Linked DNA regions of Homo sapiens: region 2 is linked to region 1. Evidence: promoter capture Hi-C in human tissues and cell types (Jung and others, 2019). All regions are on one chromosome and are shown on one strand. The core of a region is centred on a gene start or on the middle of the fragment in contact, and the rest is flanking DNA. Distances in the headings are between cores, read along the strand shown.

Region 1 (5,703 bases), core at 2,758-5,257:
GTGGAGGATGCAGTGAGTCGAGATGGTGCCACTGCATTCCAGCCTGGGTGACAAAGCGAGACTCCATCTCAAAATAAATAAACAAACAAATAAAAATAAAAATGTTGAGCTAGGTTTTGATGTTTAGAAAGCTTGCTAAGTAGGAATGAGGGCACTACAGGGTGGGGCAGTGGCATGGACAACGGCAGAGAGGTGGGACTTGGTGTGTGCGTGTGTGTGTGTGTGTGTGTGTGTGTGTAGAAAACAGAGGAAGACAAGTCTCATGTGCCAAGGGGTCTGTGTCCCAGAGCAGAGACAGCCTGAGGGCTGAGAGGATCCACATTCCAGAGATCTTGGAGGCCAGAGGAAAGAATGTAGATTGAAGGGAAGATGGAAGAAATGTTTCCTACAGAAGATTAGACTGGGTGAAGGAAGTTGGGAGAAAGACTGGATTCGGGTAATGGAAAGAAAAGCAAAGAAAGAGGTGGACCTGAAGAAAATACAGAAAGAAGGGATGTCATCTGGTGACGGCTTGGAAGGAGAAGGTGAAGTGGGAATCCCTGCAATTTCATACCATGAAGAAAGCTGGTATTGCTGAGAACCAGGCCAGTTAAGCAGAGAAGATGGGCGAGGGGTGAGTGGAGGGGTAGGGAGGAAAGGGGGTGGAGGAGGGAGGGGACGATGAGTGGTTTGGTGTACACCAAGCTTGTCCAACCCACGGCCCAGGATGGCTTTGAATGTGGCCCAACACAAATAAACTTCTTAAACATTCCGTAAACTCCTTAAAACATTATGAGTTTTTTTTTTTTTTTTTGCAATTTTGTTAGTGCAGTAGCTATCATTAGTGTATTTTTTTTTTCTTTTTTTAGACAGAATCTTGCTCTGTCACCAGGCTGGAGTGCAATGGCACAATCTCAGCTCCCTGCAACCTTTACTTCCCAGGTTCAAGCGATTCTCCTGCCTCAGCCTCCCGAGAGCTGGGACTACAGGCATGCGCCACCACACCAGGTTAATTGTTTGTATTTTTAGTAGAGACAGGGTTTCATCATGTTGGCCAGGCTGGTTTCGAACTCCTGACCTCAAGTGATCCCCCTGCCTCGCCCTCCCAAAGTGCTAGGATTACTGGCTTGATCCCATGGTGCCCAGCCTCATTACTGTATTTTATATGTGATTCAAGAAAATTCTTTGTCTTTCAATGTGGCCAGGAGGCGGAGGTTGCAGTGACCCAAGATTGCGCCACAGCACTCCAGCCTGAGCGACAGAGCCAGACCCTGTCTCAAAAAAAAAAAAAAAAAAAAAAATCAGACATCTGGCACTGAAAGAAACCATTCCGCTTGAAAACAGGTAAAGATATGATGCCAGACACCCAGACACCAGGTACTTCACAGTCTGGCTGGAGAGCAGATAGCCATGCACGAAGTACCTATTAAGACCAGGGTGCAAACTCAAACTCCTGAGGGGCCAGGTGAAATTTCATCCAGGCTGCAGTGCAATGGAGCGATCTTGGCTTACCATAACTTCCGCCTCCCGGGTTCAAGCGATTATCCTGCCTCAGCCTCCCGAGTAGCTGGGATTGCCGGCGTCTGCCACCATGCCTGGCTAATTTTTGTATTTTTAGTAGAGACGGGGTTTCGCCATGTTGGCCAGGCTGGTCTCAAACTCCTGATCTCACGATCCACCCTCTTCGGCCTCCCAAAGTGCTGAGATTACAGGTGTTAGCCATTGTGCCTGGCCCTTTTCTAATATTCTTTAACAACTCTGCTTTCTTGGATGGGAATTCATGAGCTCTAGTACTTGAGGAGATTTTCATCTGTAGATGTTAGGATTTTCTTATCTACTATATTCAGCACCCATCCTGGAGCAAACTCAAAGAAAATCTGCCTTGGATCCTTCTGAGTACTGAACATTTGAAGAGTTCTTCTTTCGTGATATCCAGTAAATTAGAACTGTCCTTCCTGGCAAGCTCAAGTTGTGCTTCAGGAAATTTGGCAGGATCTGCCAGGTTCCCACGATTCTTTGCATTGGTGGAATATGGTACCAGTGCTTCAGAAGGAAGCATTCTTTTTGGAATGGGTTGTCTCCAAAAAGAATGGAACAGGTTTGGATAGAATTTCCAGACTTCTTGGATCCTGTAAGGCTGTAGTGACACCACCACCATTTTTTTCAATTGCAGCAATAGCTAGTTCTGAAGCCAACTGTACTTCAATATTAACTTTTTTTTTTTTTTTTTTTTTTTTGGACAGGGGGTCTCACTCTGTCATCAGACTGGAGTGCAGTGGCATGATCTCAGCTCACTGCAACCTCCACCTCCCGGGTTCAAGTGATTCTCCTACCTCAGCCTCCCAAGTAGCTGGGACTACAGGCACGTGCCACCATGCCTGGCTAATTTTTGCATTTTTAATAAGACGGGGTTTCACCACGGTGGCCAGGGTGGTCTCAATCTCCTGACCTCATGATCCACCCCCCTTGGCCTGCCAAAGTGCTGGGATTACAGGTGTGAGCCACCGCGCCCGGCCCAATATTAACTTTCACCTGAAAGGTGTCTGCGGCCTTTTCGACCAGCTGAACACCATAATCCTCTTTAAGTGGCTGAATGGTCACACCTCTTCCATTGACAAGCTGGGTTAAGTCAATAGGTTGAGTAGGATCAACACGACCCAAATCAGTAACATATTACAGTCTATTGATACTTAAAGGTTGATACTGGTGTCTGAAGCTAAGTCCTTCATTAAATCTGTATTTTGGGATTCCGATGTAAAATAGAGTCTGGCCATCCCCAAAGCCCAGCAGAGCCAGTTTCCTCTCTGCCTTTCTCTTTTATGGCCTCTGCCGCATTTTCTACCTCTTCTCCGACCTTTTGGTCGTCTCATGGGTTTCCTGGAGCCAGGATTCCGCTTTAAATTGGTCAGGCTCATGCGCAGCAGGGCCCAGAGCTGCCATAACCTGCGAAAAGAGTTTTATTTCTTCCTTTCTGACCTGTATGTCTTTTGTTTCCTAATTGCATAGCCTAGATCCTCCATCTGGTACAATGTTGAATAGGAGTGGTAAGAGAGACACCCTCGCTTTGTTCCTGCAATCGGGGGGTGGGGGGAAGATTTCAGTCTTTCACTACTCAGTATGAGGCTACCTGTAGGTTCTTTGTAGGAGCCTTTCATCAGGTTGATGAAATTCCTCTCTATTCTTAGTTTGCTGAGAATTTTCATCACGAAGGGTGTTGGATTTTGTCAAATGCCTTTGCTGCGTCATTTCCACTCACATTTCATTGGGAAAACCTGTTATACCTGTCCAATAGCGGCAGAACATCAGGTAAAGGCCAGTGGTGACAGCTGTGGCAACAGGCCAAGCTCCAGACCTTGCCAGGCTAGAGGTGGCCTGGGGTTGGAGCAGGCTTAACCCCCTCCCTCTGCTCAGAAGGTCCAGCATCCTGACCAGACTCGGCAGCTTATTGAATTTGCCGGGGTGCAAGCTTCCTTGCACTGTCCACATGTTCTTACCAGGGAAGGGTCTACCCAGGGCCATCCTGCCTCAAAGGAGAAGTGGTTTACTGTTTTCTCCACCTTTAGAGGGAATGAGGGTCCCTGCTCCTGGTCCTTACTCTACTCCACTGTCCAATTGGCGCATGCCCTGAGGCTCTCATTATACAAATTGGAAGCTAAGGTGCAAAAGAACTAAGAATTTGCATAAGGTCCCCAACAGGTGAAGGCAGGCCCCAAACCTAGGATCTAGATTTCGTTTTTCTGACCCCGCTTCCTTTAACCTGCAGGGCTGGCCCAACGCCCCGGGCTTCACCCAACACTGGGCGCAGGCGGGAAGGCCGAGAGGCTGGGTCGGGCGCCCAAGCGAGGGCCCAGGTGGGGCGAAACAGGCGCAGTCAAGGGGCTGGCACCTTGGCCCCCCGCCGTGGATTCAAAGGGTCAGGCTCCGCCCCCTCCAAGCCCCGAGCCCACTTTGATGTGCTGATGCGGCCTGGAAGGGGCCACTTCACACCTCGGGCTCGGCATAAAGCGGCCGCCGGCCGCCGGCCCCCAGACGCGCCGCCGCTGCCATGGCCCAGCCCCTGTGCCCGCCGCTCTCCGAGTCCTGGATGCTCTCTGCGGCCTGGGGCCCAACTCGGCGGCCGCCGCCCTCCGACAAGGACTGCGGCCGCTCCCTCGTCTCGTCCCCAGACTCATGGGGCAGCACCCCAGCCGACAGCCCCGTGGCGAGCCCCGCGCGGCCAGGCACCCTCCGGGACCCCCGCGCCCCCTCCGTAGGTAGGCGCGGCGCGCGCAGCAGCCGCCTGGGCAGCGGGCAGAGGCAGAGCGCCAGTGAGCGGGAGAAACTGCGCATGCGCACGCTGGCCCGCGCCCTGCACGAGCTGCGCCGCTTTCTACCGCCGTCCGTGGCGCCCGCGGGCCAGAGCCTGACCAAGATCGAGACGCTGCGCCTGGCTATCCGCTATATCGGCCACCTGTCGGCCGTGCTAGGCCTCAGCGAGGAGAGTCTCCAGCGCCGGTGCCGGCAGCGCGGTGACGCGGGGTCCCCTCGGGGCTGCCCGCTGTGCCCCGACGACTGCCCCGCGCAGATGCAGACACGGACGCAGGCTGAGGGGCAGGGGCAGGGGCGCGGGCTGGGCCTGGTATCCGCCGTCCGCGCCGGGGCGTCCTGGGGATCCCCGCCTGCCTGCCCCGGAGCCCGAGCTGCACCCGAGCCGCGCGACCCGCCTGCGCTGTTCGCCGAGGCGGCGTGCCCTGAAGGGCAGGCGATGGAGCCAAGCCCACCGTCCCCGGTTAGTGTCCCCTTCCCCGCGCCCCCTTCGTCCGTGCCCCCGCGCACAGCCCCACCGCCCGCCAAGGTGAGGACCAGGCACCCTGCTGCTCCCCGCCGGCAGCCTGGCCACCTGGCCACCATAGTATGCCCAGGGCTCCAAGAAGCGAAGGCAGGGAAAGGCCACGCAGAGGACTGGGTCTCCCCTCGCTAGGGGCCCCCTGAGAGTGGAGCCCACGAGCGCGGACACCCGCACAAGGCCACCAGTGCTTGAGGGCTGCGCTGTTCCGTCTCTCCCTACAGCTCCTTCCGGGCGACGTGCTGGCTCTGTTGGAGACCTGGATGCCCCTCTCGCCTCTGGAGTGGCTGCCTGAGGAGCCCAAGTGACAAGGGACAACTGACGCCGTCTCTGTGAGCACCGAGGCTTTTTGGCCTCAGCACCTTCGAAGTGGTTCCTTGGCAGACTGCCTTTCCTGGAAGAGGGCACGGGCGATCCCGACGGGGGCATTCCTGCGGGTGAGAGCCGTCCCCACCGCGGCGGCCCTTCTCAGCCCCTCCCTCCATGGAGGGACCCATAGGGCTAGACACTTTGAGGCAAGCAGGAGGCTCTGCCTAATGTGAATTTATTTATTTGTGAATAAACTGTACTGGTGTCAGTTGGCAATTTCTTCTTCCTACCCGTGGACACAGAGCTCCCTCTCTCCCTCCAAAGAAGAGCATGGGAGAGGTGGGAGGGGTTCTTGCAATCTTTAGCCCCCCGACCCCCACAGGCCCAGACCCCTTTGGCCTTACCCCCAGCCCTGGCTCAGCATCTAGTCCAGATGGGTCAGCCTGGAATGGGTGGGGAGGGACGTCCTGTGAGAAGGCAGCGGCAAGTAGAATCTGCTCATCTTTTCTTTGAACCTGGTGGGGAACTGGTTAAAACCAAAATATCTGTGTAGAAATACAACTCCATTATTGAGTATTTATTGTATGTAC
Region 2 (5,932 bases), core at 3,433-5,932, 490 kb before region 1:
CACTTTGAACGCAAAATCCACTTTGCTGTAATGGTCATCCGAACTCCCTTCAGAGAGCAAGCAAGCAAAATTAAGTGTGATACTGGAGCTTATGCATGCAAAAGCTTGCAAAAAGTATTAAGGAAAAATTACTGCAGTTTACCAAAAATATGAGGGTGGTCAACATTTTCTGATAGAATGGTAAACTGTTTTTTTCTTTTTTTTTTTTTTTGAGACAAAGTCTCTCTCTGCCGCCCAGGCTGGAGTGCAGTGGCGCGATCTCGGCTCACTGCCACCTCCGCCTCCCAGGTCCAAGCGATTCTCCTGCCTCAGCCTCCTGAGTAGCTGGGACTATAGATGTGCACCCACACCCAGCTAATTTTTGTGTTTTTAGTAGAGACGGGGTTTCACCATGTTGGCCAGGCTGGTCTTGAACTCCTGACCTTGTGATCTGCCTGCTTCAGCCTCCCAAAGTGCTGGGATTACAGGCGTGAGCCACCGCACCTGGCCTAAACTGTTTTTCTTATAAAATGGGCTATGGACACATATTCTGCTTTATCACAGGGAGACTTTGTAACATCATTTGGGATGTAAAACCTCTAATGAAAACTGGAAACTAAGGCTTTATACAGGCCTAGGTATAGGGAGCCAACGACCTGAAGGCCTAAGCCAGGGCTAGGACCCACAGTTTGGGAGGCAGAGAAATCAAAACCCCTCCTGGGTGAGCCCACTCAGACAGCAGCCAGAACCCACCTGTGTGAGCCCCCTTTCACCCTTACGCTGTGAACAGGGACTCTCATTCCTTCAGGATGTTTGATGAAGGAGTGGTGGCGGTGATAATCTCTGTTGAGAGCTGGACCCAAGACTTTATGTATTTATTTATTTTGAGACTGAGTCTCGCACTATCGCCCAGGCTGGAGTACAGTCGTGCAATCTCAGCTCACTGCAACCTCCGCCTCCTGGGTTCAAGTGATTCTCCTGCCTCAGCCTCCCAAGTAGATGGGATTACAGGTGGCCGCCACAACGCCTAATTTTTGTATTTTTAGTAGAGATGGGGTTTCACCATGTTGGCCAGGCTGGTCTCGAACTCCTGACAAGTGATTTGCCTGCCTCGGCTTCCCAAAGTGCTAGGATTAAAGGTGTGAGCCAACGTGCCCAGCCAACCCAAGACTTCTTTTACTTTTGCTGTATAACATTCAAGGGAGCTAAAAGGAAAATGAGATTTCACACCCACATACTCTCTTAGAATAGTGTCTACTGACTAGTTCCTCTGGAACCAGTGTGAAATGTCTGGAGAAACAGGACAGAACAAAGCAATGAGATAAAAAAAAATTTCCCACATTGACTCAGATGCAGACGGAGGAACAACGACTTAGCTTTGGATTTTGTGTCTACATCAAGAGGAGCTTCTAAAGTGCTTGGGAAAGACCCCAAGAGGGATGGCTGAGGCTCAGGGAGGGCAAACTGTTAAGGACAGTGCTACCCACCATGGGAACCACTGACTGGAGAGGCGGTCACAAGCACACATTGTCCCAGCTCATCTTCTGGTACCTGCCTGTGCTGCAGTCCCGACTCCAGCTGCCTGACCTTGAACAAAGTACAAACTGTCAGTCTCCATCCCGTTTTGAATGGGGGTATTAAGAAGACTCAGGCTGAATTGCTTGAACCCAGGAGGCAGAGACGCAGTGAGCCGAGATCACACCACTGCACTCCAGCCTGGGCAACAGAGTGAAACTCTGATTCAAGAAAAAAAAAAAAAAACTCAGGCCAGGTGCAGTGGCTCATGCCTATAATCTCAGCACTTTGGGAGGCTGAGGTGGGAGGATCTTGAGGCCAGGAGTTCGAGACCAGCCTGGGCAACTTGGCAAGATGCTATCTCTCCAAAAAAATAGCCGGGTGTGGTGGCGCATGCCTGTGGTCCCAGCTACTAGGGAGGCTGAGATGGGAGTATTGTTTGAGCCCAGGAGGTTGAAGCTTGCAGTTAGCTGTCTTCATACCACTGCACTCCAGCCTGGGTGACAGTGACCCTGTGTCAAAAAAAAAAAAAAAAAAAAAAAAAAAAAACCTGCACCAAGGTGTGGTGGCATCTTAGCACTCTGGGAGGCCGAGGTGGGAGGATTTCTTAAGGCCAGGAGTTTGACAGCAACCCGGGCAACATAGCAAGACCCTATCTCTACAAAAAATTTAAAAATTAGCCAGGTGTGATGGTGCACACCTATCGTCCCAGCTACTCAGGGGGCTGAGGTGGGAGGGTGGCTTGAGACCAAGAGTTTGGGTCTGCAGTGAGCTGTGATTGCACCACTGCACCCCAGCCTTACAAAAAAACAAAACAAAAAAAGACGTGCACCCGGAAAGTTGTGACAACACTGTGTTTTTACATCAGATGATGTCAGTGAAGAGCATTCAACTTGGTGTTGGGGGCTAGAGGAAAGCTCAAGGTGGCAGGGAAAGTGAAGGAGTGGGGCATTTGGGTGGAGCAGGGCTAAATGGAAAGAAGGGACAAAGCAATAAAAATAAGTGGTGAGCAAAGGGGAATAAACAGGCTGAGAACAGAAGTGGCAGCTCAATACTGGAGGCACAGGCACTATTACCGTGCTAACATTTGATATCAAAGGAAGACAAAATCTAAATGTAAAGTCAGGAGTGTGTAACTGTCACACACACTCCTTTTTAACACCCCTGGGGCTTGAACAAGAACGGGGAGAGGTAGCAGATACATTCATGATGTCTTACTCAGTAGAATTATTCCAGATTTTCTCCCCTTTAAAGAGACCACTATCAGCTCCCCTTTAAAGAGACCATTATCTTTCTCCCCTTTAAGAGATCATTATCAGCTTTCTTCATCCTTCTTCTTAGGCTGAGACAGGTGAGAAGGCAGCCATGAAAATAAATGTCCAAAGGACTATGATGGACAGTGCTCTGGAAAGGGACTCATCAGGTAGAAAATGAATACATCCTGGCTGGGTGTGGTGGCTCACGCCTGTAATCCCAGCACTTTGGGAGGCCGAGGCGGGCGGATCACCTAAAGTCAGGAGTTCAAGACCAGCCTAGCCAATGTGGTGAAACCCCTTCTCTTTTAAAAATACAAAAAAATTAGCCGGGTTTGGTGGCAGGAGCCTGTATAGTCCCAGCTACTCGGGAGGCTGAGCCAGGAGGATCACTCGAACCCTAGAGGTGGAGGTTGCAGTGAGCCGAGATTGTACCAGTGCACCCCAACCTAGGTGACAGAGCGAGACTATCTCAAAAAAAAAAAAAAAAAAAAAAAAAAAAAAAGAAACAGAAAAGAATCCAGGGGCTCACTCCTGTCATCTCAGTACTTTGGGAGGCCGAGGTGGGAGGACTGCTTCAGCCCAAGAGTTCAAGACCAGCCTGGGCAACATGGTGAAACGCTGTCTATATAAAAAAATACAAAATCACCTAATCGTTAAAAAAAAAAAAAAAAAAAAAAAAAGCCAGGTGTGTGGTGGTGCACGCCTATAGTCTCAGCTACTCAAGAGGCTGAGGTGGGAGGATCACTTCAGCCCCAGAGGTGGAGGCTACAGTGAGCCAGGATCATACCACTACACTCTAGCCTGGGGACAGAGTGAGACCCTATCTCAAAAGAAAAGAAAAAAAGAACATAAATACATCCAGAAGTATTATTGCTCTTCCTGGGACATCAGGGCCACCAGTGCTGCCTGTACGTCTTCTGCCTGGGATGGGGGCAGCCGACAGTCCTGAATGAGGGCCACAGCAGCTGCCTCTGTCAGGCTGCTGAAGTCCTGGGATGTTTTGACAGGGAGGTGCCCAGCCAGCTCACAGAGGGCAACATTGAAAGCTTCACCGTCCTTTATCCCAAAGCTGGACTTCCGGGCCCACAGAATTACTCGGACCCCTGTGAGGGCTGAGGAAGGTGATGTCTTTCCCGGCGGAGCTCCCCGGGTGACAAACAAGTTATGAGCAATCTCATGGTCAGTCAGATAATCAGTGGCCCGACATACCCTGCTTATCAAGGACTCCAAGTCAGGCCCTGGCCCACGAGTGTAAAAGAGGAAGCCAGGAGCTGGGAGGTCCTGGAGCAGATGCAAATGGCCTCCAGGGTCCAGGGGCTCGCTTGGCGCCTGCTCCACGGGCAGTCTGTGGGCCAGGTAATAGCCATGCAGGTGGAGGTGGTTCACCGAGGCCAAGCCTCCCAGGCTGTTGAAGCCGACACGGAAGCCCGGGTGTAAGCTCAGCAGCACAGCCTCAATCCCTGCCCTCAGTGCACCCGGCAGCAGGCGCTGGGGGAGCTGGCGGGCAGGCTCAGGCACCAGCAGCACGTGGCCCCACTCCAGGGGGCTGACGTTGATCACCACCAGGATGTCTTCTTGCAGCAGAGTCCCAGGGAGATCAGGCTCCCGGTGCAAACGGAAGAGGACTTCTCCGGGCCGGATCTTGTTGAAGTTGAACTGTACAGGGTCAAATGCCTGCCTCACACTCTTGATGGTCTGCGGGGGCCTCCTCTGCACACCACGCTCCACATTCAGCTGAGCCACGAAACCCACAGCACCAGGGAGGATTTGGGTCTGTAGCTCCCGTAGACGGTAGCGAAACAGCCCCAGCTCCACCCGCTGCTTCCAGGCAGAGCAGAGTGCAGCATCAAAGGGAGATTGTGGCAGAGCATCTGGGATGCCAGGTGCATTCCTTGGCCACTGAATCCCTTCTGCCATGAGATCCTTCTGCCCATAAACAAAGTCAGGAATGGTTTGCCTGCCCCAGTCCTCATTGTTGGGAGGCAGCAAATAGGAAGTTTCGTTTGAATCATGTGGAAGAGCCATAGAGCTGACCTGAAATAGTCATAAAAGATGAAAACACATGATGGTAACCCACCTCCAGAGATTGTCATTGTATTTATTTATTTATTTTTTTTTTTGAGATGGAGTCTCACTCTGTCACCCAGGCTGGAGTGCAGTGGCAGTGATCTTGGTTCACTGTAACCTCCGCCTCCTGGGTTCAAGCGGTTCTCCCGCCTCAGCCTCCTGGGCAGCTGGGGTTACAGGCAGGCACCACCATGCCCGGGTAATTTTTGTATTTTTAGTAGAGATGGTGTTTCACCATGTTGGCCAGGCTGGTCTTGAACTCCTGACATCGGGTGATCCCTTTGCCTTGGCCTCCCAAAGTGCTGGGATTACAGGCATGAACCAACATGCACAGCTTATTTATTTATTTTTATTTTTTTGAGACAGAGTCTCACTCTGTTGCCCAGGCTAGAGGGCAGTGGCGCGATCTTGGCTCACTGCAACCTCCACCTCCTGGGTTCAAGTGATTCTCATGCCTCAGCCTCCCAAGCAGCTGGAATTACAGGCACCCGCCACCAGGCCCGGCTAATTTTTGTATTTTTAGTAGAGGCAGGGTTTCACCACATTGGCCAGGCCGGTCTTGAACTCCTGACCTCCGGTGACCCTCCCCTCTCGGCTTCCCAAAGTGCTGGGATTACAGGCCTGAGCCACTGCACCTGGCCTATTTATTTATTTATCACTCTGTCACCCAGGCTGGAGTGCAATGGCGCTATCTTGGCTCACTGCAACCTCTACCTCCCAGGTTCAAGCGATTCTCTGGCCTCAGCCTCCCAAGTAGCTGGGATTATAGGAATGTGCCACCACAGCCAGCTAATTTTGTATTTTTGGTAGAGACAGGGTTTCACCATGTTGGTCTGGCTGGTCTTGAACTCCTGACCTCAGGTGATCCACCCACCTCGGCTTCCCAAAGTGCTGGGATTACAGGTGTGAGCCACTGCGCCCAGCCACGGCCTATTTTATTTTGAAACAGGTTCTCACTCTGTCACCCAGGCAGGAGTGCAGTGGTGCATACATGTCTCCCTGAAGCCTTGACCTCCCAGGCTCAAGGGATTCTTTCACCTCAGCATCCCAAGTATCTGGAACTACAGGCATGTGCCACCAGGCACTGCCGAGATCGCACCATTGCAGTCCAGCCT

The links. Contacts are between HindIII fragments. The study calls those that stand out against the background at their distance.
Region 2: a fragment that was not itself captured here is called in contact with the fragment with the promoter of MESP1 in region 1 in 1 of the 25 tissues and cell types used here (bladder).

The regions. Positions count from the first base shown.
Region 1 is chr15:89,749,553-89,755,255 of GRCh38, reverse strand. It overlaps MESP1 (mesoderm posterior bHLH transcription factor 1), which reads left to right and starts at 4,007. Exons shown (of 2, transcript NM_018670.4): 1 at 4,007-4,747; 2 at 5,029-5,381. The coding sequence starts at 4,025. The coding sequence ends at 5,112. It also overlaps the pseudogene MRPL15P1. RefSeq lists silencers at 3,957-4,386, 4,447-4,736. The HindIII fragment of the contact is 13,666 bases long and covers 2,066-5,703 here.
Region 2 is chr15:90,239,752-90,245,683 of GRCh38, reverse strand. It overlaps GDPGP1 (GDP-D-glucose phosphorylase 1), which reads right to left. Exons shown (of 4, transcript NM_001013657.3): 4 at 1-4,784. The coding sequence starts at 4,775. The coding sequence ends at 3,618. It also overlaps a transcript of CIB1 not described here. Among named protein-coding and RNA genes, the nearest start is that of TTLL13, 6.8 kb to the left of the region's middle. The HindIII fragment of the contact is 7,306 bases long and covers 1,030-5,932 here.